Linked DNA regions of Homo sapiens: region 2 is linked to region 1. Evidence: promoter capture Hi-C in 16 types of primary human blood cells and fetal thymus (Javierre and others, 2016). All regions are on one chromosome and are shown on one strand. Each heading gives the region's core, a stretch centred on a gene start or on the middle of the fragment in contact. The rest is flanking DNA. Distances are from core to core; before and after follow the strand shown.

Region 1 (2,980 bases), core at 143-2,642:
CTAACCATTATGCATTTCAAGATTTAGCCAGTGATACTGGCTTTTCATCTTTACTGTTTTTAGAGTGACCCTATTTGGTTGTTAATGGCTCCAACAGTCAGCCTTTTTGAACTGTGGGAAAGACGGTGGGGCAGCAATTAGGACTCAAGGGTAGGTGCACACAGCTTGATTGAAAACAGTCTGAAAGCATTCCATCTTAAGGAATGTGAGCATATATTACTACTGTATATGCCATTATTTTAGGAGGAGACCTTGACTCTATTTATTTTGCAAAAGAGGTGATAATTCAAGGAATAATATGATATTGTAGAATCATGCAGTGCTTCACACTGAACTCTCTTAAGATGTGTGCATGTTAAACTGACTAATTAATAAGGTGAATAAGGTAATTGATAACAGATTGAAGAAGTATGGTAAGCTACAATCTCATCTTGCAATACATAGAACATCAAGATGTAAAGCAAGAATCTCTTCTCACTAAAATCACTTTAAAATGCAGTATTTGGTCTTTATATATTCTAAAGAAAGTACAGCACTTTTTCAAATGTAAGTGATATTGTATTGACGATTCATTATTAACAATAATCCTTCCAGTTTTCAGTTTTCCCTCCACCCCCCATAGGAAAGCCTTTTGGACATTATATAAGCTTCCCTACAATCCCAAGACTTAAAAGCCCTCTCTGGGTGTGACACTGAAGAATTCTATTCTCAGTAATTCTTGGCTAAAGTTTGAAGGATTATAGGGCTTTTGGTCTCTCATCTTAATATTTACTTCCTATTAGGGAAGAACAGGAGAAATGAAGAGTTGTTTAATGAGAAAACCAAGAGCCTGAAGAGTCTTCAGAGGAAGGGAGTTCAAACCTCTTGGAAGCTGATGTTTTAATTTTAATTTTTTAAAGATGAGGTTTCACTCTGTTGCCCAAGCTGAAGTTCAGTGGTGTGATCACAGCTCACAGCAGCCTTGAATTCCTGGGCTGAAGCAATGGAGGTTGATGTTTTAAATGGGCAGAATATCCAGGAGTTACTGCTTATTAAAATTACATCAAATGTAACCGTTTACAAGACCCTTAGGAGCTGAGTTTAGCAATGCAAAAGTCACCCTAGCATGGGAGAGGTTGGAGCAGACAAGAGATCTTGGGCACAATTATAAAGAACTTGTCAAATAAAATAGTATGAACTAAAGGCTTAAGTATAGGAGGAGTCTTGTATGTCCAAGGGGATTCAGCAGATTAGGTAAGATAAAGACTTATCTTCAGATTAAGGCCTACACCAGAGGTAAGTAGATCACTGCCAGATAGAATCTGGAACCCCTTAGAGAAGGTGTCATTACGTGTTCACAATGGATATAGTTCTATTGACTGGGGGGTAATTCTGCCCCTAACAAATTACTGTGTCAGGAAGAGCATGGCAACATGAGCAGTGCTGGTGAGTCTCTGCCAGGGATGTCTCCAAGGCCTTGAGTCTCTCAAATAAGGCAAACCATTCATCTTCCCAATTGTTAATAGATCTGAGCCATTCAGGGGCACCATGGGTGACTTTTGTGTTATTCATGCCTTTGTTTTCCTTCTCTTTCTCCTTCTTCCCCTTCCTCCTACCTTCTGCCACCAGATCTTTGAGGATAGTACAGGGCCTTATTCATAAGACAACTAAGGCAAGAGGGAGGAAGTAAAATGTGGATTGGGCCACCTCTCCTCCAGAGAGAAGACTGGTATGGGGTTTGAGATTATGCAGTGATTTCATTTGTTGCCAAGTCAATATTATTATGGCGTGGAATGGGTGCTAAAAGCCTTCTCAAATTATTAGGAAGTTTGAAGGCAGAACAGGTAAGAAGGAAAAACAAGAATGGAGAAATGAGAGGATGAGGAAGGGAAGGATGTACAGAGCCTTGTCTCTATATCTCCTTAAGACTGTTTTGGCAATGGCAAGCCCTAGCATAGTCAGGCCCCTTGCCACCAGCGGTGTGTGTAGCTGTGAACAACAATCACTAGGGAATTTCTGCCAAACCCCACTTTTCTGTATTCAGATGGGCTCAGTAATATACTCATTCAACAAATCCATGTTAGACTCTATGAATGATAAACAAACAAAAGTCCAAAAGATTGAAAATCATTGGCTGGGAGCGTTGGCTCACCCTTGTAATCCTAGTACTTTGGGAGGCTGAGGCAGGTGGATTACCTGAGGTCAGGAGTTCAAGACCAGCCTGGCCAACATGGTAAAACCCCATCTCTACTGAAAATACAGAAATTAGCCAGGTGTGGTGGCATGCACTGTAATCCCAGCTACTGGAGAGGTTGAGACACAAGAATCACTTGAATCTGGGAGGCAGAGTCTGCAGTGAGTTGAGATCTTGCCACTGCATTCCAGCCTGGGTGACGGAGTGAGACTTTGGCAAAAAAAAAAAAAAAAAAAGATTGAAGATTATCTTTTGAAAGAACAATTTATTCCACATTTACAGAACTTAGACATTGTGCAAACACTTTTAGAGCCTAGAGGAAGAAAGGTGAAAAAACAAAGTCCCTCCTCTCACACGCTCAGTCTGATGAGGAAGACAGATATATCGATGGATAAAAACAGTCAGACTTGTTAATTGTAATAATGGAGGATATACGTGATGGTATAGGGAGATAGTGATGAATTCTACCATTGCAGTAGATTCTACCTTTCTTGGCTCACCAAGATTATATGTAAACCAGTTCTTAATGGATGACTATTAATTTGTGAGCTGACTGTGCTTAAGAAAACATTTGAAGCAATGGGAATATGGGAACAAAGACATGGAGGTTTCAAGTGAGAGTACCTAGCACATGCAGGAAACAGCAATGCCTTGGCTTAGCTTGCAAACAGGAGGCAGAGTGCGCAGAGAGGCAGGAAATGAGACTGGGAGGAAACTCAAAAGCCAGATGGGGTAAAGCCTCAGATACTATACTAGAGAGTTTGGACTTTACCTTCTAGGACATCAAGGAGATTTTGAAAGACTTTA
Region 2 (2,980 bases), core at 298-2,797, 310 kb after region 1:
AGTATTCAATAAACGTTGGCTATTATTATTCTCTCCAATACAGTGCTTCTTCAAATTTTGTGTGAATATGAATTACTTAGGGAGTTTGTTAAAATGCAGATTCTGATTCTGTAGGTATAGGATGAGACATGAGATTCTGCATGTCTAACCAGCCTCCAAGTGATACCAATGTTTCTGGTCCACAACCCACAATTTGAATAGCCAGGATCTAGTATGTAGGACATGAGACAGAGGGAGGAGACTGGCTCTAAGGAAAAGAACTAGAAAAACATGACAGAAGTGCATATACATATTATAAACTTTCTATCAATTCAAATGGTTTTTAAATGGAAATTTATGGGCTGTTTGAAAAGATAGTGCATTCCCTCTCTCAGGCAGGGCTGACTCCTCCATTAGACATAGGAGGCAAGTGTCTGGGGCCCATGATGCTTTTAGGGGCCCATAAAAATGTTTTACTTTTAATTTTTTTAAGCCAAAGGAAACATAAATATAATAATGAATATGTAATAATAAATCCAGCCTGGATTACAGGTGATTTTATGCCAATGCAGTCATAAAATATAATTTTAGATACTTTTTTTTTTTCTTGACATGGAGTCTCGCTCTGTAGCCCAAGCTGGAGTGCAGTGGCGCAATCTCAGCTCACTGCAAGCTCCGCCTCCCGGGTTCAAGCAATTGTTCTGCCTCAGCCTCCTGAGTAGCTGGAACTACAGGCATGTGCCACCATGCCAGCTAATTTTTTGTATTTTTAGTAGAGACCAGGTTTCACTGTGTTAGCCAGGATGGTCTCGATCTCCTGACCTCGTGATCCACCCATCTCGGCCCATGGAGCAAAAGCAGAACTGCTGGGGTTCCAAGAAAGTCATAATGTGGCCCTGACTGGATGTGATCATGGGGATAAAGAATGAAGATGGAAAACTCTAAGATTCCTTGCAGATTTGAGTCAATGTTTCTTTAAGATTCTATGACAATGCTCTGCTATCTATATTCCCTAGCTATAAAGTCACACCTGCAAACACTCACTTTCTGCTTGTCTCACATCTTCACACATAGACTAACATTGCTTATCATTGGCCATAAATCAGCAGTTTACAAACCACCCCTAGAATCTACCTCTGCCTTCTCCCTGTTTGCTTCCAAAATAAAGAAGTTATTATTGGCTGGGCACAGTGGCTCATGCCTGTAGTCCCAGCACTTTGGGAGGCCAAGGACAGTGGATTGCTTCAGTCCAGGAGTTCAGGACCAGCCCGGGCAACATTGTGAAAATTTTTGTACAAAAAGTACAAAAATTAGCCAGATGTGGTTGCACGCACCTGTAGTCCTAGGAGGCTGAGGTAGGAGGATTGCTTGAGCCTGGGAGGTCGAGGCTGCAGTGAGCTGTGATCATACCACTGCACTCCAGCCTGAGTGACAGAGTGAGACCCTGCCTCATTAAAAAAAAAAAAAAAGGAAGGAAAGAAAGAAAAAAAGAAAAGAAAAGAAATTATTGTTTTTATTCCTACAAAATACATTTGATTCCAGATATTGCGAAAATTTTGCAGACATTTCCTCATTAATATATACATCTCCTTGTTGAAGGAAGTGGAGTTTTTGTTTTATTCTTATTTTTAAGGTTGGAAATAAAGCCAAGAAAAGATTAAATGAGAGCTGTGCTTTAAAACTCAGTGGGAGAGGCTGGGTACAGTGGCTCATGCCTGTAATCCCAGCACTTTGGGAGGCCAAGGTGGGCAGATTGCCTAAGGTCAGGAGTTCAAGACCAGCCTGGCCAACATGGTGAAACCCCGTCTCTACTAAAAATATAAAAATTAGCCGAGCATGGTGGCAGTCACCTGTAATCCCAGCTACTTAGGAGGCTGACGCAGGAGAGTCACTTGAACCTGGGAGGCAGAGGTTACAGTGAGCTGAGATGGCACCACTGCACTCCAGCCTAAGCGACAGAGCGAGACTTCACCTCAAAAAAAAAAAAAAAAAAACTCAGTGTGAGAGAAAAACATTACTAAGTCTATGGCTATGATTATTATTATTATTATAGTTATCAGTGGAAAACATACATCCAGCACTCATAAATAACAAAGGCAGTGATTCTCAATTGGTACAAACTGGAACTCCTTATGTAGCATTAAACAGATGCCTAGGCCCTACCCCAAACCTTCCCTCTCAGAATACTCAGAGAACAGAGCTCCAGCCCTGTGTTTTGAAAAAACTCCCACCATTATGAGGGCTTAAAACCACTGTGTCATGGCATGGAGAAGAATATTGCAGAATCTCAGGAAGGAGAAAGTTCCAAGGAGGGAACGGTTTGGTGTCTGAGGCTGCAGAGAGATGGAGTAATATAAAAATGGGAAAAAGTCCTTCGAACCTGGGGGAACATTGGTGACTTTGGTGAGAATAGTCACCCTGGGTCATGAGGGTAAAAACCATACTACAAAGATTGCTTACTCTTATACACAGTTAGATATTTGAGGGATCATAAAATTAAGACACGAATGGAAGATTAAAAAATAGACAGGGAATATAGACTTAAACAGGGGTACATGTGGACACACAGAGTGGAATAACAGACATGGAGACTCCAAAAGATGAGAAGGCTGGGAGGAGGGCGAGGAGTAAAAAATTACACATTTTGTACAATGTAAACTATTCAGGGGATGGGTACACTAAAAGGCCAGATTTTACCACTATGCAGTATACCATGTAACAAAGCTGCACTTGTACCCTCTAAATTTATAAAAATACATTTTGTAAAATAGGGGTTTTAATCTGGGGTCCTCAGATTCCTCCTACACCCCATCCTCCATTCCCCTCCAAGGGACCCATGGATAGAAGTCAGGGAATCGGCCAGGCGTGGTGGCTCACACCTGTAATCCCAGCATTTTGGGAGGCCGAGGTGGGCAGATCACAAGGCCAGGAGATCGAGACCATCCTGGCCAACATGGTGAAACCCCATCTCTACTAAAAATACAAAAATTAGCTGGGTGTG

The links. The method cuts DNA at HindIII sites, captures the fragments that hold promoters and counts their contacts. A CHiCAGO score of 5 or more calls a contact.
Region 2: a contact is called between a fragment that was not itself captured here and the fragment with the promoter of RGSL1 in region 1, in 4 of 17 cell types (M1 macrophages, M2 macrophages, M0 macrophages and 1 more). The highest score is 8.2, in M1 macrophages.

What each region holds. Positions count from the first base shown.
Region 1 is chr1:182,448,754-182,451,733 of GRCh38, forward strand. It overlaps RGSL1 (regulator of G protein signaling like 1), which reads left to right and starts at 1,393. Exons shown (of 22, transcript NM_001137669.2): 1 at 1,393-1,425. The coding sequence starts at 1,413. RefSeq lists an enhancer at 1,231-1,838. The HindIII fragment of the contact is 4,233 bases long and covers 646-2,980 here.
Region 2 is chr1:182,755,588-182,758,567 of GRCh38, forward strand. No RefSeq gene overlaps it. Among named protein-coding and RNA genes, the nearest start is that of NPL, 33 kb to the right of the region's middle. The HindIII fragment of the contact is 5,923 bases long and covers 1-2,980 here.